6 separate regions of the Homo sapiens genome follow, and all the other regions are linked to region 6. Evidence: promoter capture Hi-C in 16 types of primary human blood cells and fetal thymus (Javierre and others, 2016). All regions are on one chromosome and are shown on one strand. Each heading gives the region's core, a stretch centred on a gene start or on the middle of the fragment in contact. The rest is flanking DNA. Distances are from core to core; before and after follow the strand shown. Region 1 overlaps LOC124905249 (a long non-coding RNA gene). Region 2 overlaps CTPS2 (CTP synthase 2). Region 3 holds the start of FANCB (FA complementation group B). Region 4 overlaps CTPS2 (CTP synthase 2). Region 5 has its middle 12 kb from the start of TXLNG. Region 6 holds the start of ZRSR2 (zinc finger CCCH-type, RNA binding motif and serine/arginine rich 2).

Region 1 (4,479 bases), core at 1,543-4,042, 660 kb after region 6:
ATAAATACCATGTGATCTCATTTATATGTGGAATCCTAAAAAGTTAAACTCACGGAAGTAGAAAGTAGAATGATGGTTACCAGGGACCAGTGGTAGAGGAAAAGAGAGAATGGGGAGCTGTTGGTCAAAGGGTACAAAATTTCAGATAGACAGAAGGACTAAGTTTTGAGATCTATTGCACAGCAGGGTGACTATAGTCAATAATAATGTATATTTCAAAGTAAGAGTAAATTTCAAATGTCACACAACAAAAAATGATAAGTGAGGTGATGGATATGTTAATTCATCTTGATTATCTTGATTTAATTATCCCATATTGTATACATACATCAAAACATCACATTATACCCTATAAATATGTACAATTATGATTTATTAAAAATAATATGAATAAAAATAAAATAAGAACATACTCCTTAGTTAGAAATGCTCCATGGGTCCAGAGTTGCTAATCATTGCCTTCCTTTCTGGTTTTCCTTTGCACTTTGCTCCAATGTTTAATTTAGTCCATTGGGATCTGCAAATTATATCCCAGATGCTATAGGACAAGGAACTACTTGATCTCTTTCAATCCAACTGGAGAAATGTACACTGAGCAAAGTCTATATAAAGGGCTTCACTCGGCTAAGCACTTGATACCTTTATTCCCTGAGTATCTTGAATGACCTTTCTCCAAAGCTGATCATAGTAGCTTGATTTAAAATAAAATGTGTTATTTCTAAAGTTGGCACAAAATCTAAGGGATGACATTTGTTCTCTTCTTTATAGTTTTCCTGTATTTTTTTCAGCTTTTCACAAAGAACATGTATTACTATTATATGTAGTGGAAGGTGTTATTCAAAAAGAAAACACTTTAATGCTGATTCCATTTTAGACCAAACATATATTGCTAGTACTTTCAAAACACTTACTAAATCATAGACCCTATCATAAGAAATGTGTACCTATTAATCCCCTCAACAACTCCATGAGGTAGGTTCTATCATTATCCCTTTTCGAGAAAATAGAGACACAAAGATTAAGGAACCTACACAGAGTCACACAGCTAGTAAGTGATGGAGCTGGGATTTAAGTTCAAGCGCTTTGGTTTTCAAGTTCATGCTTTTAACTAGTATTCCAGGAGTGAAAAACGAACGTGACTGCTATTACTGTCTCGTATGGCTCTAAGGGTCCAATTACACAAGCAGCCTGCCTTGGGAGCAAATTATTGGTCTCTTAGGCTGTGGAGTCCTGAAGGCAAGAACTATGTCTCATCCATCTGTGTTTTCATTAGCTTTTGCTGCGTAACAGTCCACCCTAAGCTTAGTGACCTAAAAACTACAGCCAACTACGTGACTCGCAATTCTGTGGGTTGGCAATTTGGGCTGGGCCTTTCTTTTGCTGGTCTTCTGCTATACTGAGTTAAGCCGTGCCAGTTGGCTGCTGGTCAACTAGGTGTCTCAGCTTCTGGAAGTTGGCTGGCTGTCAGCTGAGGTAATAGGAGCCCCTGGGGTCACGGATCTCTCATCATTCAGCAGGCTAGCTTGGGCTTCCTCACACGACAGCAGCGGCAGGGTCCCAAGAGCCTCAAGAGTGGATATGCCCCAGTGAGCAAGAGCTTTCAGGTCTCTGCTTGCATCACATTTGCTATTGACCCATTGGCCAAAGCAAATCAAATGGCTATGCCCAGAGTCAATGTGGGAGGGGACTGCCCAAAGGCATGGATACAGACAGGTAAATAATTTGTGGCCATTTATGCAATCTACCAATATCCCCATAATCAAACACAGAACCTTATAAATAGTAGACATGAAATAAATACTTATTGAACTGAATGCTATCTCCCCTTCATGAAAAATCGAGATAAGACCAATAATCTCTTTCCTCTCTACACTAAGTACACCACATCAAGGAGACAGAAGAGGCTGGCTGACCCCTCCTCACAGAGGGTTACCTCACCCTGGGTGATGGAGCCCATCACTTGACAGTCACCTCATAACCATGGTCTTCTCAGCTCCTGGGGTGAGGGGTGCGTTCTTACTGGTGGCTGCTTCCCTAATGCTCTTAGGATGGCAGGACTTGCTCTTCTCAGTGGTTCCATCAAGCTCCCAAGGGGAGTCCCTTGGCCCCCTGCTTCTGCCAAGTCCTGCAGTGACACCTTTATGAAGCAGCTCAAATTAGCAGCCCTGCTCGCCCTCTAGTGGTTTCTTAAGGCTGTACAGCCCTTTGAAGAAAAGTGTTCGAGGCCTTCTACAACTGTACCAGAATAAATAATTGCGGGTGCTTTGGATCAGTGGTTTTCAACAGGGCGTGATATTTTCCTGCAGTGGACATTTGGCAGTGTCTGGAGACATTTTTGGATGTCACAGCTTAGGGGTGGAGGCTGGCATCTAGTGGGTAGAGGCCGGGGATGCTGCCAAACATCCTACATTGCACAGGACACTCCCATAACACAAAATTGTCCAGTCCAAAATGTCAATAGTGCCACAGTTGAAAGATCTTGCCTTATATTCAGAGTGAGCCCTCATTTGTTTTAAGGATGCACCCACAGGCCCACCCAAGGTTGTTCCATGGATGGATCACCCACTCTGGGAAGAGTCAATCTGTAGGAAACAACCCTAAAGTCTCAATGTGAAACTTAAATCTCAGGAACAATTCCTGGGGCATCCCATGATTCTCCAGGTTGGACAGACAAACTAAGCGCTAAACAGGAGCTTGGTTACAGGCAAGAACATCTTACTGTCTCTTTCCATTATCTATGCTCAATCCCATTGATTCAGAGAGCAATTTTCTCAGGAAAGAAAAGTGCTTTAAAGTTTTTATTGTAAGCCAACTAATAGCCCTAGGAAATAAAAATGTCTTCCAGTGGAGAATTGCACCGTGGGACTTCTGTGTGAACCATCAGAAACCTTTGATAAAATTTATATTAGTTGTGTAAACTAAAAAAAAAATTCTAAGCCCCCCAACCATCTGAAAGGACCCCTTCTCTCAGCCAAGGACATTCCAAAGAACCTGAAAAACTAGTTCAGGCAATGATGGGATGCCGGGGCTGGCGGGGTTGGGGGGCAGTGGGGGGCATAGTTGGACATGCCTCCTTATACCCGCCTTGCTTTGGAATTCAGGCACAACTGACCAGCATTCACATTACAATAGACATCTTAAGACTTTGTAGCAATAAGACACCGAATTCCAGCCTGACTCTATTATAGCATCACTTGACAGATAGCAGGCCCTGAAAGAAATTGAAGTATTTTACCCTAAAATATATTTTTTGACATATTTTGAAATGGCCCTGCAATGCTGTCTCTTGTGGGGAAAATCTACATTCTGGAAAGAATCCCTTTACTTTTCCAGGTCTTCGTCCTGATCCAGGAGAGAATTAACTAATAGTCTGGCACCTTTTTAAGTCTAATAAGAAATATTTACAATCTATTTTCTCTGAAGCCTGCTACCTAAAGGCTTCATCTGCATAATAAGAACCTTGGTCTCCACAACCCCTTATCTTAGCCCAGACACTCCCTCCCATAGATTCCAGGCCTTTAGAAGAAGTCTTTCAACCAATTGCCAATTGGAAAATCTTTGAATTCACCTCTGACCTAGAAGCCCCCACTTCCAGTTGTCCCACCTTTCCAGACCAAACCAATGTACACCTTACATGTACTGATTGATATCTTATGTCTCCCTAAAATGTATAAAACCAAGCTGTGGCCCAACCACCTTGGGCACATGTTCTCAGGACCTCCTGAGGCTGTGTCATGAGTACGTCCTTAACCTTCTCAAAATAAACTTCTTTTTTTTTTTTGAGACGGAGTCTCGCTCTGTCTCCCAGGCTGCAGTGCAATGGCGCGATCTCAGCTCACTGCAACCTCTGCCTCCCAGGTTCAAGTGATTCCCCTGTTTCACCCTCCCTAGTAGCTGGGATTAAGGCGTGTGCCATCACACCCGGCTAATTTTTTGTATTTTAGTAGAGACGGGGTTTCACCATGTTGCCCAGGTTGGTCTCAAACTCCTGAGGTCAAGCAATCCACCCACCTCAGCCTCCCAAAGTGCTAGGATTACAGGCGTGAGCCACCGCACCCGGCCCTCAAAATAAACTTCTACATTGATTGAGACTTGTCTCAGTTCCTTTTTGGTTTACAGTTGCAAGGAATAAATGACAGGCATCCGGTTTTAACAAAATAACACTTGTTCCATGCAGGAAGAGAATTTCTTAATGTCAGAGAAAGAACACCAAGAGCCGAGGGAAGGAAAGCTACACAGACACTGATTGCTGTGGCAAGTCCATGTAAAAAGCAACAGGAAATGAAAGCTTTCACTCTAAGCTTTTAGCAATGTTAATTAGAGGAGAGTGGCTGACATTTCCCTAGAATGGAACATAAACTAAAATTTACCTAGGAATTTTACTTCTGAAATTTTCTCAGAAGAATTCAACAGTAAAGGTGCTTCTTATTAGCTCTGGACTTTATTCCTTATCTACTATTTTCTTATACTCCCTTATGC
Region 2 (4,434 bases), core at 955-3,454, 890 kb after region 6:
GGTTTCAGTGATCTTCTCCAGATCAATGGAGTCTATGTACTAAAAAACATCCAACAGATAAAAGGAGTATTTAAGAAAAATAAACACTCAAAAATACTGCAGCCATCTAATACTATGACACATTATTCAATAATTACTTATTATGCAAACACTGTACTGGGCACTAGGGATAGAAAAACAGTCTCTGTTTTGCGGCTCTTATAATCTTTCAGAAAGATTACAAAACCAGATAAACGGGCATCCACACTATACTGTGATAATGGCTATGACAGACAAAGAAGAGAACGATGCAGAAGTAACTTGGGGTCAACCGCGTGGGGTGGCACGTGCCTGTAGCCCCAGCTACTTGGGAAGCTGAGGTGGGAGGATCCTTTGAGCCTGGGAGGTCCGGGCTGCAATGATCCCTGATTGTAACACTGCATTCCAGCCTGAGTGACAGAGTGAGACACTGTCTCAAAAAAAAATTTAAAAAAAAAGCAACTAGGACGTCACTAGAACTGAACACTGGAGGAAAGACAGGAAGGATTGACGTCAAGGAAGAGCTCTGGGGAGGTAATGTTCAAGAAGCCAGCCGAGAGGAGAGCAGAAGCAAGATAAGCACGTGTGTGATGGGAGGCAGCAGGAGACAAAGAGAGGAGGGGAGAAGGGTATGAAATCTCCAGCAGGCCGGGCGCATTGGCTCATGCCTGTAATCCCAGCACTTTGGGAGGCCGAGGTGGGCAGATCATCTAAGGTTAGGAATTCAAGACCAGCCTGGCCAACGTGGCAAAACCCCGTCTCTACTAAAAATATAAAAATTAGCCAGGCATGGTGGCAGGTGCCTGTAATCTCAGCTACTCGGGAGGCTGAGGCAGAAGAATCACATGAACCCAGGAGGCAGAGGTTGCAGTGAGCTTAGATTGTGCCACTGCACTCAAGTCTGGTCAACAGAGTGAGAGTCCGTCTCAAAAAATAAAAAAATAAAAATAAATAAAAAAAAAAGAAATCTCCAGCAAAGGAACCACTTATATGAAACCTCAGAGGAAAAAGAGAGAAAGTGGTAGCCACTCTGGGACCCTCAAAAAAGGCCCCACCCAGCGAGAGGACAGACCTGATTGGTTGGAGGAAGGCAAGGGACGAGGCTGAGAAGCCATGACACAGACTTGACACTTGAAGCCAATTGCAATGGTTTGAATGTCTGTGTTCCCCCAAAATTCCTATGTTGAAATCCCAACTCCCAAAGGAATGGTATTAGGAGGTAGGTGGGGTCTTTGAGGGATGATTAGGTCAAGAAGGCAGAGCACATAGGAATAGGATTAGTGCCCCTATAAAAAAGGCCCCATAGACCTCCCTCACCCCTTCCGCACATGGGGATATAACCAGAGGTTGGTCCTCTGCACCCAAAAGAGGGCCCTCACCAGAACCCGGCCACATGCTGGCACCCTAATCTTGGACTTCCAGCCTCCAGAACTGTGAGAGAGAAATGGCAGTTGTTTGTAAGCCACCTGGTCTATGGTACTTTGTTACAGCAGCCTGAACAGACTGAGACACCACTGAAAGATCTTAAGTAAAGGGACGACAGGAACAGAGAGAACCGAGAAAGATTTTACAATGATCACTCTGGTAGAGTGTGGCAAAGGCAGGGAAGACTGGCAGCTGGAAACCAGCCCGGAAGCCGCTGCAGCTGCAGCAAACCAGGAGAGATAGACAGATGCAGCCCAATCTTAGAAGGAAGATGACAAGGCCAGGATTCAAACAGTACTTAGGAGAAGCTAATGTCAATGAATCCTATCAGATGAAGCATCATGTGCACCAATTCTTATGTATATAACAGTCCCTCTCTATCTATATTAGTTTAGTATTTCTTCTGTAAAAATGACTCTCCTGGCCAAGCACAGTGGCTCACGTCTATAATCCCAGCACTTTGGGAGGCCGAGGCAGGTGGATCACTTAAGGCCAGGAGTTTAAGACCAGCCTGGCCAACATGACAAAACCCTGTCTCTACTAAAAATAACAAAATTAGGTGTGGTGGCGGGCACCTGTAATCCCAGCTACTCAGGAGGCTAAGGCACAAGAATTGCTTGAACCCCGGAGGTGGAGGTTGCAGTGAGCCAAGATCGCACCACTGCACTCCACCCTAGGAGAAAGGGCGAGACCCTGTCTCAAAAAAAAAAAAAAGAAAAAGAAAAGAAAAGAAAAAAAAAAGACTATTCAAATAAACTTTAAGATACAAATTTCTAAAGGCTTTATAAAATGTATATGTCATGGCAATTTTTCCATTGCCATTTTCTTTTTTTTACATAATGGGGCGGGCGACTTGAAGGAGTGGGAGGAATGGGAAGTAAACTATTCCTTAGAAAGCCAAAAGTAAAAAGTGATTAGGGGCTGGTCATGGTGGCTCACGCCTGTAATCCTAGCACTTTAGGAGGCCAAGGCAGGAGGAATTGTTTGAGCAGTTCGAGACCAGCCTGGGCAACATAGCGAGACCCCGTCTCTATAAAAATTAAAAAATAGGCCAGGCACGATGGCTCACGCTTGTAATCCCAACACTTTGGGAGGCCAAGGCAGGTGGATCACCTGAGGTCAGGAGTTCGAGACCAGCCTGGCCAACATGAAGAAACTCCATCTCTACTAAAAATACAAAAATTAGCTGGGCGTGGTGGCACATGCCTGTAATCCCAGCTATTCGGGTGGCTAAGGCAGGAGAATCACTTGAACCCAGAAGGCAGAGGTTGCAGTGAGCTGAGATGGCACCACTGTACTCCAGCCTGGGCAACAAGAGCAAAACTCCATCTAAAAAGTAATTAACTAATTAATTAATTAAAAAATAATAAAATAAAATTTTTAAAAAGTGATTAGGAAAGAAGGAGGCTAAAAAGAGGAGAGAGAAACAGCAGCTAGTTCTCCTAAGCTAGTGTCAAAGTGGAAGCCATTAAATTTCTTTAACATATAAATGGATCTTTTTACTCATTATACAAAGTTTTTGCCATTTAAGTCAAGATGATAAGACTTGCTTAAACAATGATATACTCATACTGAATATCATTAAATATAAATGTGAGATAGATATATAAATATACGTATCCAACTGGTAACAAGTGGGATTTCAGGGAGGAGGAATCTGCTTTCTGCATTTTAGATTTATGCTTTATTTTGTTTTGTTTTGTTTTTTGGAGACAGGGTCTCAATCTGTCACCCAGGCTGGAGTGCAGTGGCGCAATTATAGCTCACCGCAGTATCAAACTCCTGGGCTCAAGTGATCTTCCTGCCTCAGCCTCCCAATTAGCTGAGACTACAGGCGCATGCCACCACACCCGGCTAACTTTTTAAGTTTTTTTTATAGAGATGAGGTCTCCCATTGTTGCCCAGGCTGGTCTTCAACTCCTGAGCTCAAGCAACCCACCTGGCTCAGCCTCCCAAAGGGCTGGGATTACAGGCGTGAACTACTTCGCCTGGCTTATGCTTTGTTTAAATGTTTTACTCTAAACATGTACTACTTCCGTTCTTATATGGAAGAATATACTCAAGCTATATAAGATAACTACGCCTCTGTTATTCCACAATACTGAGTTTCCAAAACAAATAATCACTGTTTGCTAGCTATCATTCCTCCATGTTAGAGAGGGGAATATAGTATTTTAAAAAATCTAGATTCCATTCCAATGCTAAAGGGAAAAAATGTCCTATTATTTTCCTGTTAGGCAATTACGACGTACTTAAACGAGCATGACAAGCATGCTCATTCATCTGAATGTGCAAAGCCTACTTTCAGAAATGTGCCTTAAACCTACATGTAGAAAACAGCTTACACAGGCCAGGCACAGTGGCTCATGCCAGTAATCCCAGCACTTTGAGAGGCCAAGACGGGCAGATCACCTGAGATCAGGAGTTCGAGACCAGCCTGGCCAACGTGGTGAAACCCCGTCTCTATTAAAAATACAAAAATTAGCTGGGCATGGTGGCGGGAGTCTGTAATCCCAGATACTCAGGAGGCTGAGGCACAAGAATTGCTGGAACGGTGAAGACAGAGGTTGCGGTGGGCCGAGATCATGCCACTGCACACCAACCTGGGCGGCAGAGGGAGACTGTGTCTCAAAAAAGGAAAAAAGAAAACCGTTTACACAGCAAGCCTGGCTGCTGCCCTTGGAAAGGCCTGCTACAAGATTGAGACTTGACTGGCTTCTGGAAACTCTGATTTTGGGAGGGTTCCCATCATTCCAAGAACTGATAGGAGAAGCTCACTGTGCTGAAAGTGTCTGTACAGACAACATGGTTTCTGCTGCATGCTTTCCTTCTGGGAGGCTGGCATTTTGGGAAGTGCTAAGAAGAGGGTGCCTACGTGACCAGCCCCCAGTAAAAACCTTGGGCTTCAAGTCTTCAATGAGCTTCCTTAGTAAATGGCAGTTTGCATGTATTATCACAACTCACTGGACTCTACCAGGGGAGAGCACTTAG
Region 3 (4,376 bases), core at 775-3,274, 920 kb before region 6:
TAAGTTATTTATTGGGTCCTATACAGAATTGATCTCACCTTTTTCAACATTATCTAATATGCCTGAAATGTGAGTAAATGCGGGAGAATCGTGATCAACTAAATTAGAGGATTTGGGAAGATTACGCTAAAGAAGATTTTTATGTCATATTAAGGACTTATAAATTTCTCATATAAGTAATGATAACCCACTGAAAGACTTCAAAAACAGAAATCACAGGACTGTACTTTTGAGTTATGAAGATCCTGGTGACAGTGTTAAAGGTGTGAGTGAGATCAGACTGGAAAAAGAGCTAACAATTAGAAGAAAATTATGAGTACTTAAATAAAAGGGAGAGATGACTCTGAAGGTAATTTGGCAGTCAACTGAAATGCATATACCCAGTAGTTTCATTTGTAGATATAAACCCAGAGACATAATCCCACATATGAATGAATACATTGCTCTAGAAGCTCACTGTGCTGATATTTGCAATATAAAAAAAGTAAAAACCTCAATGAACACCAATAGGGGAATGAGTATAGATGGACTATCAAACAAGAGTTAAAAGGAATGAATTAGATCTATCTATCTATATATGTGTGTGTGTGTGTGTGTATATATATATATAATCATGGTTAAATTTCAAAAATAAAATGAATTAAAAATTAAGTTGCAGACAAATGTACACTGCAGCATATTATTTATGTAAAACAAATAAAACAGCATTATATATGTTCTATTTACCTACAATGACTACAGTCCCTGAGTGCTTTCTCAAGAAATAGTGCCATGTACTATTTTTTTTTTTTTTCCTGAAGAAACAGTGCCAGGTACTGCTCTAAGCACTTTGGATTAACTCGTTTCTTCCTCACAACATCCTTATGACATAGGCACTGTTACTATCCCATTTTATAGATGGAGAAACTGAGGCAAGGAGTTTCAGGATCTTCTCAAAGGCTTGCAGATAAGAAGTGACAGAGCCAGGATTCAAACCCAGGCAGTATGATCCAAAATAAAAAAATGTAAAACTGTAAACATTTCATGCCAAATTCTGAATGCTGTTGATTCTGGACAAGGAAGTGTCCAGGATAGGTGAGTAGAGGTAGAAGGAGACTTTAGTTATATCTGAAATATCTTTTAAGGATGTAGTCAAACAACGTTTAAACAATGTGTTCATTTTTTCCCATAAAAAATGTAAATATATTTAAAAGTCTAGGACAAAAGATGCTAACATGCCATTCTGTCATGGATGACTACGGTTGATGGAAATATGGGGGACTATTCTTACAACTTGTTTGTAGTTTTCAGTATCTTTCAACTTTAAAAAAGGCAATATTGTATGCGCAACTATTTTCTTTCAATTGTTTTTAACTGACGAATAAAATTTGTTCCAGTCCCTTTAAATCTAAATCTTTCTCAACCTTGACACTATTGACATTTTGGGCTGGATAACTGTTGTGAATTTTCATGTACACTGGAGGATGTTTGGCAGCTTCCCTGGTCTCTATCCACTAGTAGCCAGTGAGCATCTCTTTTGCCCCCGGCCCCTAGCAGTGGTGACTAAAAATGTCTCCAGAGGTTGCCAAAGGTCCCCTGGGTGGTAAAACCGCCCCCCCCACACACACCCCCCCACCCCCCCGGCTGAACACAACTACCTTAATAAGCCGAAACACGCTTTTTTTAACTTTATATAATTATTTGAGATTAAAGATTTCAGAGATATTTTGCTCATTAAGCATCTCACACTCCAAGTTGGAAGGATACTGAAGGGATGAAAAAAACTTCAAGCGAATGTAGCACTTAAAATCCAATTATCATTGCAAGGAATGACAGACCCAGGTCTCGGGATGCCCGCTTCCTTCCCTCTCTCCCGCAATGCGGGGACAAGGGGAGGAAATCCAGCCCCATCGCCCCCTCTGCGAAGTCCTGGGAAGGGAAGACTCGCCAGCCCCATCCTACCTCAACGCAGCGGCAACATACCGGAGGCCCCACGTCGATACGGTATCCATCTGCTCCAAACCTCCCGCCAGCGCGCTGCATCCTGGGAGGCCGGGCGGAGGCTGCGTCGAACGCAGAGGAGGCGGAGCCTAGAAGCCAGCCAGGAGAGGTGGCCAAGGGAGGCTGAGGAGGCGGGGCCCTGGGGAGTGTTGTGAAAGCAGAGAGCCCGCGAGCTCTCTAGGGCGGAGCTCCGCGGGGGAAGCGCCGGCGATCTCGCGGCTGGCGGGGGCGGGACCGCAGTGCGGGGGATGTCGCGGGGCGAGGCCAGACGAGAATCGAATGGGACCTAGGCTGAGGGCCTGGTCCCGCCTCCAGACCCAGGCGTCCGCATTGGATTGGGCGGTGCGGCGGCGCTTCTGTCCGCCTTCCGGTGTCACGCGACCGCCTCCCCCTCCCACCCTTCTCTGTCTACCTCTGGGCGGGACTGCCGGGTGATGAGATACTCGGTCGGCGACGGTAGAACGGGCGACGGCGACAACCGCAATCACATCCACGACGGTGATCATGGCAGAGGTGAGGAGCCTATTGCACCGCCGCTGGCCCCCCGGACCCGGAAGCCGCCTCTGAGGCCCGGGGACCGAGCGCCCGTGTGCAGGTGGGCTGGGTTGAGGGTAAGCGGGTTGATGCAAGTAGTATCTAAGGTCCCATCGTGTCTCCCATCCAGAATCACGCCCAGAATAAAGCCAAGCTCATCTCTGAGACCCGGAGGAGGTTCGAAGCTGAGTATGTGACAGGTGGGTACTCTGTTCCAGGTATTAAGAAAGGTGTGCAGTGAGCATCCCCAACTTTGCTGGAGTGTTTGTGAGTGTATTTGTGGGAGGTGTTAGGGACCCTTTCGACCCTCACAGGAATGATGCTGGGCACGTCTCAAAGGTTTTCCTCTCCATGACAAGCCGTGTGCACTGCTTCAAATGGTCAAGTGGTGTGTCCCATGCTCCCTTTAAAGGGTTAATGTAAGTTGGAAATCGGTTAAGTTTTTAGCATGCCCTCGTGTTTATGGAACTTGCAGGATACTTGTTAGGCCCACAACACGGGTGACATTGTCCAGTCCACGGTTCCACTGCTGGCCTTTCACCAGCAACACTAGCGAAAATGTACCTGGAAACTGCCATAATACTATTGATGTGTACTTAATTGGGTATACAAATTCCTTGGATATTTTGTTTGATTTGGCTTTCATACAACCCAGCATGCTACCCACAAAATAGGCCCTCCAATGCTGGAACAAGTTCTTATCCCAAACTGTATCTTGCAAAGTACCTATGAGTCCAGAATTGATTTATTGGTTGAACATTCTGTGTCCAGATGTCACAGATACTTGAGTTGTCAGGTACTTAACTGAATATTTAATGCTTGTACAGTAATTTTGTAAAACATACGGAATAACTTATTGTAAATATGGAATTAAATAAGGATTTATATGTTGCCTACCTTAAGATTGATTGTAATCCTAACCCTGCCACTACATAGCTTACTTGTCTATTCTGAGCCCGTTTTCATATCTGTGAAGTGCAAATAATAAAGTTAGTAGGATTAAATTTTTTAAAAAAACATAAACCATCTAGCATGTCTTAAAATATAGTGGATTCTCAGTGAATATTTTGCCTCAGTTGTCATTTTGGTTACTGTGAAAGGAGTTAAGCTTCTACATCTTGACTAGTACTCAGCAGAGGTTCCCTGCAACTTTAAACCATCCTAGATTATACATCAGTTGATGACATAGAACAAATATGGAAATCGGTTTCAAATACTTGTCAGTAAATCTTTTCATACCTCCTTGCCAATTTTCTTCACACCCCAAACTTTGTTCCAGAGAGTTGCAAAAGCACTTGATTCACTTTTCACCCAGAGTTCCCATTTCTAATAATATAGCTGGTTCCAATAAAGAGATCCTTCTTCAATTGCTTTCTACAGAAATGTAACTATTATAGCTGTTAATACATGGTTTATAATATTTTAAGAAGTAACTCAGAATTCGACCTAATGAGCTAGTAACACCCCAATAGTCATTTATTTATGCCCAAGGGAGGAAGCAGAATACAGGCAGAAATTAGGCAATAAACAAGATCTTAAAGGTCATCTTGGGGCAACCTCCTCATTTTTAAAATGAAGAAAGTGAGGTCTAGAGAGATTAAGAGATTTGCTCAAAATCCCTGATGTTATTGGCTAGGCCAGGACTAGTGCTCATGTCTTCTGATTTTCACTACAGTAATCTTTTGGCAATACCATGATGTCAAGTTAGATCATGTCACTCTCCAGCTTGAAACCCTTCAGTGCCTTTCCAACTGCGTTTAGAATAAAATCCCAATTCTTTATGGTGGCCTGTAATTCAAGGCCATGTGTGATCTGGCTCTTGCCAGCCCCCACCCGCCATCCTCATCTGTTACTACTCTGCT
Region 4 (4,418 bases), core at 1,576-4,075, 850 kb after region 6:
TAAGAAAAAAAGAGGAATTGTTCTTGAATATAAAAGTTAGGCTCGGCTGGGTGCAGTAGCTCACGCCCATAATCCCAGCACCTTGGGAGGCCGAGGCAGGAGGATCACCCTAAGTCAGGAATTCCAGACTAGCCTGGCCAAGGTGGTGAAACCCCACATCAAATAAAATACAAAAAATTAGCCAGGCATAGTAGCGCATGCCTGTACTCTCGGCTACTCGAGAGGCTGAGGCAGGAGAATCGGTTGAACCTGGGAGGCGGAGGTTGCAGTGAGCCGAGATGGTGTCACTGCACTCCAGCCTGGGTGACAAGAGCAAAACTCTGTCTCAAAAAGAGAAAAAAAAAAAAAAAGGCTCACTCTAGTCATCCATCCACTGCGGCTATCAATATCTTTAGGCTGTGACCCTATTTCAAGGCATTATTTTTTACTAGAGGACTCTTTACTTTCCTGTTTTTCTATTTAATCCAAGCATTGTAACTACTGGCCTATAAGTCAAATTTAAATGAAAAAAATGAGTAGCATTTCAATGCTTTCTATCAAAATTGTTAATTGTTTTCACAGGCAATGTAGGCAAATGTATTTTGTTCATAGCATTCTTGCAAAAATGTGCTGACTTGGAAAAAAGTCTACAAAAGAAATATGCCAATACGGGATGGGGGAATCCTACAAAAGAAATGTACCAGCTTATAAAAACATAAATAAATACATAAAATTCTACAAAAGAAATATGTTGACTAGGAGAAAAAAAAACGTTCATAAAACACTATCGGCCAGGCACGGCGGCTCATGCCTGCAATCTCAGCACTTTGGGAGGCTGAGGCGGGTAGATCACTTGAGGTTGGGGGTTCGAGACCAGCCTGACCAACATGGAGAAACCCCGTCTCTACTAAAAATACACAAAATTAGGAGGGCGTGGTGGCACATGCCTGTAATCTCAGCTACTTGGGAGGCTGAGGCAGGAGAATCACTTGAACCTGGGAGACGGAGGTTGCAGTGAGCCGAGATCACACCACTGCACTCCAACCTGGGCAACAAGAGTGAAACTCCGTCTCAAAAAACAAAAGAAAACAAAAAAACACTATCATGCTATATGTTTTGATATTTGTATGCCACTCAGTAGAGCCTTGCACAGTGGTCACATTCTTATCTCTGGCACAGCCTTTTTTGGAGACCTGTGGAAGACAGTGCTGCACAAGTGGGAGGGCACAAGTTCATATATCACATACTTCTTGGAAACTATGAAGCACAACTTAAATTTAAGGCAACATACTTTTCTTTCCCTTTAGAAAAAGGACTTTTTAAAAAATTAAGGAGAAAAAATTAAAGAAATTGTTGCCTGGAAACAACCCAAATGTCCACCAGCTGAGGAATGGATAAACAAAATGTGGTCTATCCATACAATGGAATATTATTTGGCCATTAAAAGGAATGAAGTACTGATACATGCTACAATGTGGATGTAGCAAAAAAACATTATGCTAGAAGAAAGGAGACAGACCAGGCATGGTGGCTCACGCCTGTAATCCCAGCACTTCAGGAGGCCAAGGTGGGCAGATCACCTGAGGTCAGGAGTTCGAGACCAGTGTGGCCAACGAAACCCCGTCTCTACTAAAAATACAAAAATCAGCCAGGCGTGGTAGTGGGTGCCTGTAATCCCAGCTACTCAGGAGGCTGAGGCAGGAGAATCGCTTAAACCCAGGAGGTGAAGGTTGCGGTGAGCCGAGATCATGCCACTGCACTCCAGCCTGGGCAACAGAGTGAGACTATCTCAAAAAAAGAAAAAAGAAAGAAAGAAGCCAGACACAAAAGACCACAAATCATATGGTTCCATTTACATGAAATGTCCATAATGGGCAAACCTATAGACAGAAAGTAGATTAGTGGTTGCCAGGGGCTGGCGGGAAGTAGGGATGGTGACAGCTAATGGGCACAGGGTTTCTACAGGAGGTGATGAAAATATCCTAAAATTGCGGTGATGGTTGCACAATTCTGTGAATGCACTAAAAAAATCAGTGAATTGGGCCGGGCGCGGTGGCTCACGCCTGTAATCCCAGCACTTTGGGAGGCCGAGGCGGGCAGATCACGAGGTCAGGAGATCAAGACTATCCCGGCTAACACGGTGAAACCCCATCTCTACTAAAAATACAAAAAAAAATAGCCGGCAGGCGCCTGTAGTCCCAGCTACTTGGGAGGCTGAGGCAGGAGAATGGCGTGAACCTGGGAGGCGGAGCTTGCAGTGAGCCGAGATTTCGCCACTGCACTCCAGCCTGGGCGACAGAGCCAGACTCCGTCTCAAAAAAAAATAAAAAATAAAAAATAAAATCAGTGAATTGTACACTACTAATAGACAAATTATATGATGTATTATATCTCAATAAAGTTGTTTTCAAAATTTTTCAAAACAAGCTTTGCTGCTGTGTTTAAGATTCATGAAAATCATCAAATCATCAATATTTTTATGTCTACTGTGAAGAAAAACAAATTTTACTTTTTAAATTGAGACGGAGTCTCACTATGTTGCCCAGCTGGTCTCCGACTCCTGGGCTCAAGCAATCCTCCCACCTCAGCCTCCCAAGCAGCTGGGACTACAGGCACATTACACCACATCCAGCACTAAGAAAAACAAATCTTTTTTACCCAGGCTGGAGTGCAGTGGCACCATCATGGCTCACTGCAGCCTCAACCTCTTGGGCTCAGGTGATCGTCCCGCTTCAGCCTCCCAAGTGGCTGGGACCACAGGCATGAGCCACCATGCCAGGCTAATTTTTGTATTTTTTGTAGAGGCAGGGTCTCCCCATGTTGCCAAGGCTGGTCTTGAATTCCTGGGCTCAAGCAATCTGCCGGCCACAGCCTCCCAAAGTGCTGGTGTGAGCCAGTGCGACTGGCCAAGAAAAATCTTAAATCAGACTTATATCTATCAAATTTTTAACTATATTGAGTACAATGCTCTTTTTAAAAACTTAGTACAATTATCACTGAATCTTTCTCAATAGATATAATTTTAGGACATTAATTTTTCACCAACCATTTTTTGTCACGTAGGCAATTACTTGAACAAAGTTTCATAGAATCTGAAGACACCTGAAAGCTACAGAATTGCTAACATTCATGAAGAAAAAAAGTTCTTATATAGTATGTGTAAGGAAAAATGTTAGTGACTTAGAGAACAATGGCTTTTTATGCAGAGAAAGGAGGAAACTGTATTCACTTTGAAGCCTTTCCTTTTTTAATTTCATTCTGGCTAGGAAGCTTTCTATTCCTTAGAAGGTTTATATTCATCTTTAAAGGAAAAGCTCATATTTCTGGTCTTACTCTTTCTTGAGTTAAGAAGGCATTTTTCTGAAGAATTCTTGCCGGGCGTGGTGACTCACGCCTGTAATCCCAGCACTTTGGGAGGCCGAGGCGGGCAGATCATGAGGTCAGGAGATCAAGACCATCCTGGCTAACACTGTGAAACCCCATCTCTACTAAAAATACAAAAAATTAGCCGGGCGCGGTGGTAGGCGCCTGTAGTCCCAGCTACTCGGGAGGCTGAGGCAGGAGAATGACGTCAACCCAGGAGGCGGAGCTTGCAGTGAGCCGAAATCGTGCCACTGCACTCCAGCCTGGGTGACAGAGCGAGACTCTGTCTCAAAAAAAAAAAAAAAAAAGAATTCTTATAACTTCACAGGATTCTAAGGGATTCTTATAATTTCACGAAAATGACACTGAACACTCACAATTCCTGAGCTCCCTCTCTGCATCCGGTCCCCTTAGCAATCTGCCTTCCCCTTTTGTCACATTTCTTCCCCTTGTTTTGAGGCCCTAGGAGGGCAGGGCTGGTATCTGTCCTGGTCACTATTATATCTGCACATGGCACAGAGTGGGCACTCAAGATACATTTATTAAATTGAATTAAAGGCTTTAGTTTGTTTTAAACAATAAGTTATTCTTATATAATATGCTAATTTATGAAAAAGTTCCACAGAAATTAGAATTAACCTTATGGGGAGTGGAAAGATCAGCAAATATCAAATGGCGAGCCATCTCCCCACACTGGGGCTGCCAGGGAACAGAGAAATACGCTTCTGAGGTGCATAACTGCCCTCCTACTCGGAAGTTCATTTGTGAGTCACTAAGACCAGGCAAACAGACATTAAACAGGGAACCGGTTCAAATGTAATGGAGAGAACTGTGGATTCAAAAGAACTGAGTGTGAATCAGTCCAAGTCCCAGTCCAAGTTCATCTCCAGGAGCATCGGTAACTCACAAAACAGCCCAATGAACAGGGAGTCACGCAGATCAAATGCGGAGGGGCATTCAGTGTGTTCTACTGAGGCCAGCCCAAGGGACAAGCTTACTAGGGAGAAGAATGCCCAGAGCAGAGGGTCAGTGAGGGCAGGGGAGATGGGAAGAGAGAGAATCAGGGCCCTCCGAGG
Region 5 (4,673 bases), core at 1,558-4,057, 980 kb after region 6:
CAGGCCTAGTACAGGGGCTCAAGAGCCCCAGAATTTTCTGGAATTTAAATACCCTCTAGGGGTTTCCCATTGGTTACATGGTGTACACCCTATGTAAATGAAATAGCGGCCTGCAATCAGTCTGTTTGGTTGTGGAAAGCAACCAATCAGAGGATGAAGTGTAGTTACAAAGTTACACTCACTCCTATGCAAACGTCTGATTGGCTACAGAAAGCAACCAATCAGGCTGGGCGTGGTGGTTCACGCCTGGAACCCCGGCACTTTGGGAGGCCAAGGCGGGTGGATCACCTGAGGTCAGGAGTTTGAGACCAGTCTGGCCAACATGAGGAATTATCTCTACTAAAAATAAAAAATTTAGCTGGGCGTGGTGGCACGTGCCTGTAATTCCAGCTACTTGAGAGGCTGAGGCACAAAAATCGCCTGAACCTGGGAGGCAGAGATTGCAGTGAGCCAAGATCGTGCCACTGCACTCCAGCCTGGGCCACAGAGGTAGACAACTTCCCCACCCCCCTAAAAAAAAAAAAAAAAAAAAAAGAAAGAAAGAAAAGAAGGCAACCAATCAGAAATGCTTTCAATTTTCCATCTGCCGCACAGAAAGGTGGGGTGGGGGTGGGGTGGATTTGCAAAGGGAGTAGTTTACAATCCTTTTGTTATTTACCTGTGGAAAGTTGGGATGTTCCTTTTGACTTAGTTTTTTTTTTTTTTTTTTTTGAGACGGACTTCACTCTTATTGCCCAGGCTGGAGTGCAATGGCACGATCTCGGCTCACCGCAACCTCCGCCTCCCGGGTTCAAGCGCTTCTCCTGCCTCAGCCTCCTGAGTAGCTGGGATTACAGGTATGCGCCACCATGCCCGGCTAATTTTGTATTTTTAGTAGAGACAGGGTTTCTCCATATTGGTCAGGCTGGTCTCAAACTCCCGACCTCAGGTGATCTGCCTGCCTCGGCCTCCCAAAGTGCTGGGATTACAGGCGTGAGCCACCGCGCCCGGCCATTGACTTAGTTCTAGAAAGCCAGCTTGAATCGGCCTTAGGTTCCCTGCCTCCGGACCCTATTCTCCTGCCTCATATGCATAGAAAAGACTCGGGAGGCTTACACCAAAATGGCGGCTATATCTTTTTTTTTTTTTTTTTTTGAGACGGAGTTTCGCTCTTGTTGCCCAGGTTGGAGTGCAATGGCGTGATCTCGGCTCTCCGCAACCTCCGCCTCCCGGGTTCAAGCGATTCTCCTGCCTCAGCCTCCCAAGTAGCTGAGATTACAGGCATGTGCCACCACACCGGGCCAATTTTGTATTTTTAGTAGAGACGGGGTTTCTCCATGTTGGTCAGGCTGGTCTCGAACTCCCGACCTCAGGTGATCCGCCCGCCTTGGCCTCCCAAAGTGCTGGGAGTACAGACGTGAGCCACCCGCACTTGGCCATCTTTTTTTTATATATTTTTTTAACTATTTGTGGTTATGTTTTTGGGAATTTCTGTGCTTAACATAGTAGGAAAAATAAGAAAAATCGGTAATAATTTACATTTCCTTTCCTCAGACCTGGAAGCAGGCATTTCTTCAAGGAATCTTGATTCCTTTTGATGGGAAAAGCTATTTACTCTTCAAGAATTGTCAGCCTGGCGTGGTGGCTCACGCCTGTAATCCCAGCACTTTGGGATGCCAAGGCAGGAGGATCACCTGATGTCAGGAGTTCAAGACCAGCCTGAACAACATGGTGAAACCCCGTCTCTACTAAGAATACAAAATTAGCCAAGCGTGGTGGTGGTGCATGCCTGTAATCCCAACTACTTGGGAGGCTGAGGCAGGAGAATTGCTTGACCCCAGGAGGCAGAGGTTGCAGTGAGCCAAGATGGGGCCATTGCACTCCAGCCTGAGCAACAAGAGTGAAACTCTGTCTCAAAAAAAAAAAAAAAAAGAATTGTCCTGCAGACTGGGGGCAGTGGCTCACACCAATCCCAGCACTTTGGAAGGCCAAGGAGGGAGGATCCTTTGAGCCCAGGAGTTCAAGACCAGCCTGGGCAACATAGTAACACCAAGTCTCTACCAATAAAATGAAATAAATAAATAAAAATTAGCCAGGCATGGTGGTGCATGCCTCTAGTCCCAGCTATTTGGGAGGCTGAGGTGGGAGGATCACTTTGCTACCCGGGAAGAGTGTCCAGGTTCTTGGCGTCTTGAGCAAAGAATTAGACAAAACGCACAAAGCAAGGAAGGAATGAAGGGATTTATTGAAAATGAAAGTACACTCCACAGGGTTTGAGCAGGCCCAAGCATAGCTCAAAGGCCCTGTTTCAGAATTTTTGGGAGTTTAAAAATAACCTCTACTTGAGGTATGCCCTATGTAAATGAAGAGGATAAAGTAAAGTTACAATCATTTACTTGGCCTACGCCCTATGGAGAGGCTATTTCCTGTCATAGCTGAAGTGTGAATCGGCCTTATATTCCCTACCTCCAGATCCTATTTTCCTGCCTCAACTTGAGCCCTGGAGGTAGAGGCTGCAGTGAGCTATGATCACACCACTGCACTCCAGCCTTGGTGACAGAGCAAGACTTGTCTCACAAATTAATAATTAAATAAAAAGTAAATAAAATATGACATTGATCAAAACTTCATTAGTAGTATTAGAAGACAAAGTTGAGATCATCTACAAAGTACAGATGTTTCCTGACTTATGATGGCGTTATGTTCCAATAAACCCATCAGAAGTTGAAAATATCATAAGTGGAAAATGCATTTAATACACTTAACCTGGCCGGGCGTGGTGGCTCATGCCTGTAACCCCAGCACTTTGAGAGGCCAAGGCGGGTGGATCACCTGAGGTCAGGAGTTCGAGACCAGCCTGGCCAACATGGTGAAACCCCTTCTCTACTAAAAATACAAAATTAGCCAGGTGTAGTGGCACATGCCTGTAGTCTCAGCTACTCGGGAGGCTGAGATAGAAGAATTGCTTGAACCTGGGAGGTGGAGGCCACAGTGAGCCAAGATGGTGACACTGCACTCCAGCTTGGGCAAGACAGAGCAAGACTCCATCTCGGAAAAAAAAAAAATACACTTAACCTACCAAACATCATAACTTAGCCTAGCCTACCTTAATGTAAGCTCATAATACTTTGTTTTTTTGAGACGGAGTCTTGCTCTATTGCCCGGGCTGGAGTGCAGTGAGACGATCTCGGCTCACTGCAACCTCTGCCTCCCAGGTTCAAGTGATTCGCGTGCCTCAGCCTCCCAAGTAGCTGGGATTACAGGCGCCAGCCACCACGCCCGGCTAATTTTTGTATTTTAGTAGAGATGGGGTTTCACCATGTTAGCCAGGTGTGTCTCGAACTCCTGACCTCAGGTGATCTGCCCACCTCGGCCTCCCAAAGTACTGGGATTACAGGCGTAAGCCACTACTCCTGGCCAAGCTCATAATACTTATATTAGCCTACAGTTGGTCAAAATCATCAAACACAAAGCTGTTTTATAATAAAGTGTTGAATATCTCATGTGCTTTATTGAATACTTGTACTGAAAGTGAAAAACAGAATGGTTGTATGGGTACTCAAAGTCAAATTCATACAACTTTGGCACCATCGCAACATCAAAAATTGTAACCCTGGAACTGTCTGTAGCAAAACAGGATATAGGAAAATAGAAGAGAAAAGATAAGAAACATGGAGCAGGGCACCGTGGCTCCCACTGAGGTGGGAGGATCACTTGAGTCCAGGAGTTTGAGACCAGCCTGGGCAACAGAGCAAGACCCTATCTCAATTTTAAAAAAAGAAAAAAGAAACATAAAAAAGAAATTATTAATAGGATACTATACAACTAGGTTGTGAATAATATCTACATGAAAATAATGTAAAAAAAATTAAGATATTAAATTAACAAAATGAAAACAACCATTTAGAGAGGATGATGTGATGATGGGAGGAAGTGAGCATCTGTGTGTGTGTGTGTGTGTGTGTGTGTGTGTGTGTGTGTGACTGTGAGTGAAAAAGCATAGACCCTCTTCCCTAGAAGCAAATCTATATATATCTTTCTGTGATTTCAGAATCAGCTTGATGGCAAGTGACAGAAAAATCCAGAATTACAGTGGTTTAAACTGGATGCTGATTTCTTTCTTTTTCTTTTTTCTTTCTTTTTTCTTTTTTTTTTTTTTTTTTGAGTCTCACTCTGTCGCCCAGGATAGAGTGCAGTGGCACAATCTCAGCTCACTGCAACCTCTGCCTCCTGGGTTCAAGGGATTCTACTGCCTCAGCCTCCCGAGTAGCTGAGATTACAGGCTTCCACCACTATGCCTGGCTAATTTTTTGTATTTTTAGTAGAGACGGGGTTTCACCAGGTTGGCCAGGATGGTTCCCCTTTCTTTTCTCTTCTCTTTTCTTCTCTTCTCTTCTCTTTTTTCTTTTTCTTGAGACGGATTCTTGCTCTGTCGGTGGTGCGATCTCAGTTCACTGCAACCTCCACCTCCCAGGTTCAAGCAATTCCCCTGCCTCAGCCTCCCAAGTAGCTGGGATTACAGGCACGCGCCCCTACATCCAGTTAATTTTTTTTTTTTTTAAGATGGAGTTTCACTCTTATTGCCCAGGTTGGAGTGCAATGGTGCGATCTCAGCTGACCGCAATCTCCGCCTCCCGGGTTCAAGCAATTCTCCTGCCTCAGCGGCCCAAGTAGCTGGGATTACAGGCATGCGC
Region 6 (4,412 bases), core at 836-3,335:
TATGAGATGGGAACTATTATTACTATCTTGATTTTTACAAATGAGAAAACAGGAGTAGACATTAAGGAATTTACTCAAGATCACAGCCAACCAATGCACTGAGCTGGACAAGGTCAACTTGGGGGTGAAGGGCATATGTGTTGCTCCAAGTGTGTCAGTATAAGAGAGATTAGGGTGAGGTTTTATGCAGAGTTTGGGCTTCAGCTGAGTAATTCTAAGGAGGGATTAGGGGAAGGAAGGCAGTTTAGTAATTGAGTATCTCAGAAACTTTAATTTGGAGGAGAACGGAACAAAGGTAGGCCAAGGAAGCTATTCAATCACTCAAAAGATAGAGGTTATTAGTCATTTTACAGCTGTAATGCATCCTTGTGAGGAACATTTTTTGCTTGGCCTTGTCCCTGGCCTTGTATGTGTACATTACAGTCTGATTATTAGTTGGGATGATTTTTAGTTTCTCAATCCCTACTCTCATTGCCCCAGTTTAATTCCTCAACACCTCTCACCTAGATTATTGTGATACTCTAGTTTTATCTTTTAAATCCTTTATATTGCAAAGCAGAGTGATTTACCTAAAACACAAACACAACCACAATAAGCCTCTATTTAAAAAGCTTTCAACGGTTCACTGTTGTCTCTACAGAATGTAAACAGAGCGTCTTAACATGGCACACCAGGCCCTCCTTAACCTAGCCCTCCCAGCCCATCACAACAACTATATTCCTTGATATTCTCGAATTGCACTTTATTTTGTTTTGTTTTTTTGAGACGGAGCCTTGCTCTGTTGCCCAGGCTGGAGGGCAGTGGTGCCATCTCGGCTCACTGCGGCCGCCACCTCCTGGGTTCAAGCAGTTCTCCTGTTTCAGCCTCCAGAGTAGCTGGGACTACAGGCATGTGCCACCACACCCGGCTAATTTTGTATTTTTAGTAGAGACGGGGTTTCACCATGTTGGCCAGGCTGACGAACTCCTGACCTCAGGTGATCCACCCGCCTAGGCCTCCCAAAGTGCTGGGATTACAGGCGTGAGCCGCTGCACCCAGCCTCGAACTGCACTTTAAATTGGATAGCTGGGCGGGCGTGGTGGCTCGCGCCTGTATTCCCAGCTACTCGGGAGGCTGAGGTGGAAGGATTGCTTGACCCCAGGAGGTCGAAGCTGCAGCGAGTCGTGATTGCGCCACTGCACTCCAACCTGGGTGAAAGACAAGACCCTGTCTCTAATATATAAGAAATGAATAAATAAATAAATTCGATTGCCAAAATTCTTGCTGTTCCCAGCATATTCCACTTTCACCTTTCAGCGCCTTTGCTTATGCTGATCTGACTGTAACTGCATTCCCACCCTTCTCCTTCTGGGTAAAGGGCATCTTCTTTCCAAACTCAACTCTTAGCATCAGAAAGCTGTCCCTGATACTGCAGTTGAGTCGCATGTGATACTGAAAAAAAAAGAAAAAAGGAAAAAAAAGAGAGCTCTCCCTGAATCCCTTGGTGGACTATGTTAGGTAAACTTCATCTTTGCCTGCATCATATTATGTATTGGTTCTTCTCTGCCCCCTCGATTGTAAACTCCTCAGGGGCAGAGGTAACAGCTTTGCAGCCCTGGGAGTTAGGTTTGCTTAAGGGACCAGAACAGGTGTGACTGGCAGGGAGCGAAGTCTGGAGCTTTGTCTGAGGCGCTGATAGGTGGATCGGCGGAAGGACGCGGAACCTGGACAGGTCGGAAATAAAGCCGGGCGAGCAGCTCTGTGCGCGATGTGACTTCATGAGTGGATGCTGAGAAAAGCGGCAGAGTACGACTTTAACCGCCTAGCCACAACACGTCCTGCTAGGGCGAGGAGGGAGACAGTGATACAGCACTGGGCAAGTGCTGAAGCGACAATTACTTCTAGGGCGGGGTAAAAGCCCCAGAGTATTTTTGCTGGAAGGAGGTATTTATTTGAGCAGGGTTCTGGAAGACGAGCCGCCGAAGGGTACCTCCGGCTTTCCGTTTCAAGTCCCACGCTGGTGGAGGTTGCTCGGTACCCGCGCCTGCGCGTGCCCGTCTCGACTCTTAGGCCCGCCCTTTCCTGCCAGACCTGGAGGGGCGGGGCGGTGCCGGCAAGATGGCTGCGCCCGAGAAGATGACGTTTCCCGAGAAACCAAGGTAAGCGCCGTACGGGGAGATGAGCAGGCGAGCGGGCCGATCGTGGGCATGGAGGATGTGGTGGCAGGAAGAAAAGAGAAGCTGGGCCAAGCTAAGTGAGCCACCGCGGCAGCTCCATTCCTTCCTGGTGCGCGCTCTGGTGCCCTCCCCGGACTTGCACGGGCGGCTGTGGCTCAGGCAAGCGAGGAGAGGATCAGGTTGGCGGATGGAGAAGAACTGTCTGGGAGTGGGAGGATGAGGCGATGATAGATGGCTGTTCTGTAATTAAAATACAGGAAGCAAGGTTTCTCTCCTCAGCACCCGAACTATTTCCTTTCATTGGGCACAGAGGAGCGGGGAGCTCGGGCAGCGCTGCATTGTAGCCGCTGATCGTCGTGTATATGTCTTAATCTTCCAGCCACAAAAAGTACAGGGCCGCCCTGAAGAAGGAGAAACGAAAGAAACGTCGGCAGGAACTTGCTCGACTGAGAGACTCAGGTGATGGACTCTTTATTCTGTTTTCTGTGTTGTGAAATTGCTCTGTCCACTCCAGCCCTAACTTGAAGCCCCAGTGTCAGAAGGAAGTCAAATATTGTGTCGGAGGAAAAATAGCTGTGACTTCTGCCCCCAAGTAGTTATTTAGAAACACATGTCAGAAACAATGTTAACATACTAAAGGCAGGAAGAGGAAGTCTTGGTGAATGATCGCCCACTGATTCTGTGTAACTTATAAAGTATCTAATATTACAGTTGCAAGCTTCATGAATTACAGCAGCTAGCACAGTCCTTGCACACGTAGTAAGTATTCGGTGAATGTTTTTCTTCGTAAAACCAGCAGGAGTTGAAGGTATTAATTAGACGTTTTGCAAGTTTTTCTCAAACTTGACTAATATGAGACCCTTGGTTTACCCAAATTATTATGTTATTCAAATATATATCAACATAATACTAGTTATGAAGCTCATTTATTTATTTTTGAGACAGGGTCTTGTTCTGTTGCCCAGGAGGGATGTGCACAACCACGGCTCACAGCAGCCTCCACCTCCCAGGCTCAAGCAGTCCTCCCACCTCAGCCTCCCTAGTAGCTGGGACTACAGGCATTCACCACCACACCTGGCTAATTTTTTCTTTTCTTTTCTTTTTTTTTTTTTTTTTTTTTGAGACGGAGTCTCGCTCTGTTGCCCAGGCTGGAGTGCAGTGGCACGATCTTGGCTCACTGCAGCCTCCGCCCCCTGGGTTCAAGCAGTTCTCCTGCTGCAGCCTCCCGAGTAGCTGGGATTACAGGCGTGCGCAACCACACCCGGCTAATTTTTGTATTTTTAGTAGAGATGGGGTGAAACCCCATCATGTTGGCCAGGCTGGTTTCGAACTTCTGACCTCAGGTGATCCACCCACCTCAGCCTCCCAAAGTGCTGGGATTAAAGGCGTGAGCTACCGCCCCTGGCCCACCTGGCTAATTTTTAAAATTTTCGTAGAGACGGGATTTCACTGTGTTGCCTGGGCTGGTCTCGAACTCCTGGCCTCAAGCAATCCTTCCACCTCGGCCTCCCAAAGTGCTGGGATTATAGGCATGAGCCACCACACCTGACCTGAAGCCATTGTTTGACTATAAAACAATATATGGGCTGGGCGCGTGGTGGCTCATGCCTGAAATCCCAGCACTTTGGAAAGCCGAGGCAGATGGATCACCTGAGGTCAGGGGTTCGAGACCTGCCTGGCCAACATGATGAAACCCTGCCTCTACTAAAAATACAAGATTAGCTGGGCTTGGTGGCAGGTGCCTGTAATCCCAGCTACTCAGGAGGCTGAGGCAAGAGGATCAGTTGAACCTGGGAGGCAGAGGTTGCAGTGAGCCGAGATCCTGCCACTGCACTTCAGTTTGGGCAACAGAGTGAGATTCTGTCTCAAAAAACAAACAAACAAATAAAAATACATTTATAAATTATAAAACTAAATGAAATTACACATTCGGTAAAATTTAAATCTACATCAGGTAATGCTAGGGATGATGTGAAACTAATGCTCCTCACAATATGTATATGGCACTGATGGGAGTTTGGAATGCCTCTACTAATGTTGCCTTATAGTTATTTACCACTTTTTCTATGAAATTACTGTAGAACCTTTATTTGTACAGATGGTCATTTGACCTTCACATGGCAAAACCTAACATTTATGTATTAAATCTACCTGCTTAATGCAATAAAATTAGGACTTAGTTATAAAATTATGTAGTAGTTATAAATCCAGATGGGAGCACTGAAATCACACAGTAGTACTGGCTTATAATGATTG

Evidence for each region. Contacts are between HindIII fragments. The CHiCAGO score rates a contact against its expected background, and 5 or more counts as called.
Region 1: a contact is called between a fragment that was not itself captured here and the fragment with the promoter of ZRSR2 in region 6, in 8 of 17 cell types (total B cells, fetal thymus, naive B cells and 5 more). The highest score is 11.1, in total B cells.
Region 2: a fragment that was not itself captured here is called in contact with the fragment with the promoter of ZRSR2 in region 6 in 4 of 17 cell types (non-activated CD4 T cells, fetal thymus, total CD4 T cells and 1 more); the score reaches 9.4 in non-activated CD4 T cells.
Region 3: the fragment with the promoter of FANCB here is called in contact with the fragment with the promoter of ZRSR2 in region 6 in 1 of 17 cell types (total CD8 T cells); the score reaches 6.5 in total CD8 T cells.
Region 4: a contact is called between a fragment that was not itself captured here and the fragment with the promoter of ZRSR2 in region 6, in 1 of 17 cell types (erythroblasts). The highest score is 5.0, in erythroblasts.
Region 5: a fragment that was not itself captured here is called in contact with the fragment with the promoter of ZRSR2 in region 6 in 2 of 17 cell types (total CD8 T cells and total CD4 T cells); the score reaches 6.1 in total CD8 T cells.

What each region holds. Positions count from the first base shown.
Region 1 is chrX:16,443,195-16,447,673 of GRCh38, forward strand. The region is part of intron 1 of LOC124905249 (a long non-coding RNA gene); the gene reads right to left. Among named protein-coding and RNA genes, the nearest start is that of MIR548AM, 180 kb to the right of the region's middle. RefSeq lists enhancers at 2,083-2,282, 3,352-3,877, 3,878-4,403. The HindIII fragment of the contact is 2,987 bases long and covers 1,300-4,286 here.
Region 2 is chrX:16,678,412-16,682,845 of GRCh38, forward strand. It overlaps CTPS2 (CTP synthase 2), which reads right to left. Exons shown (of 19, transcript NM_175859.3): 10 at 1-39. Among named protein-coding and RNA genes, the nearest start is that of S100G, 30 kb to the left of the region's middle. The HindIII fragment of the contact is 4,462 bases long and covers 1-4,434 here.
Region 3 is chrX:14,871,045-14,875,420 of GRCh38, forward strand. FANCB (FA complementation group B) reads right to left here and starts at 2,025. Exons shown (of 10, transcript NM_001018113.3): 1 at 1,942-2,025. MOSPD2 (motile sperm domain containing 2) reads left to right here and starts at 2,377. Exons shown (of 15, transcript NM_152581.4): 1 at 2,377-2,493; 2 at 2,645-2,714. The coding sequence starts at 2,485. RefSeq lists a silencer at 2,115-2,344. The HindIII fragment of the contact is 4,870 bases long and covers 1-3,620 here.
Region 4 is chrX:16,634,623-16,639,040 of GRCh38, forward strand. The region is part of intron 14 of CTPS2 (CTP synthase 2); the gene reads right to left. Among named protein-coding and RNA genes, the nearest start is that of MIR548AM, 9.7 kb to the left of the region's middle. The HindIII fragment of the contact is 843 bases long and covers 2,405-3,247 here.
Region 5 is chrX:16,772,514-16,777,186 of GRCh38, forward strand. No RefSeq gene overlaps it. Among named protein-coding and RNA genes, the nearest start is that of TXLNG, 12 kb to the right of the region's middle. RefSeq lists an enhancer at 1-16. The HindIII fragment of the contact is 6,934 bases long and covers 1-4,673 here.
Region 6 is chrX:15,788,399-15,792,810 of GRCh38, forward strand. It overlaps ZRSR2 (zinc finger CCCH-type, RNA binding motif and serine/arginine rich 2), which reads left to right and starts at 2,086. Exons shown (of 11, transcript NM_005089.4): 1 at 2,086-2,138; 2 at 2,536-2,615. The coding sequence starts at 2,098. It overlaps CA5B (carbonic anhydrase 5B), which reads left to right. Exons shown (of 8, transcript NM_007220.4): 8 at 1-13. It overlaps CA5BP1-CA5B (CA5BP1-CA5B readthrough), which reads left to right. Exons shown (of 12, transcript NR_160544.1): 12 at 1-13. RefSeq lists enhancers at 1,964-2,413, 3,072-3,573. The HindIII fragment of the contact is 2,263 bases long and covers 610-2,872 here.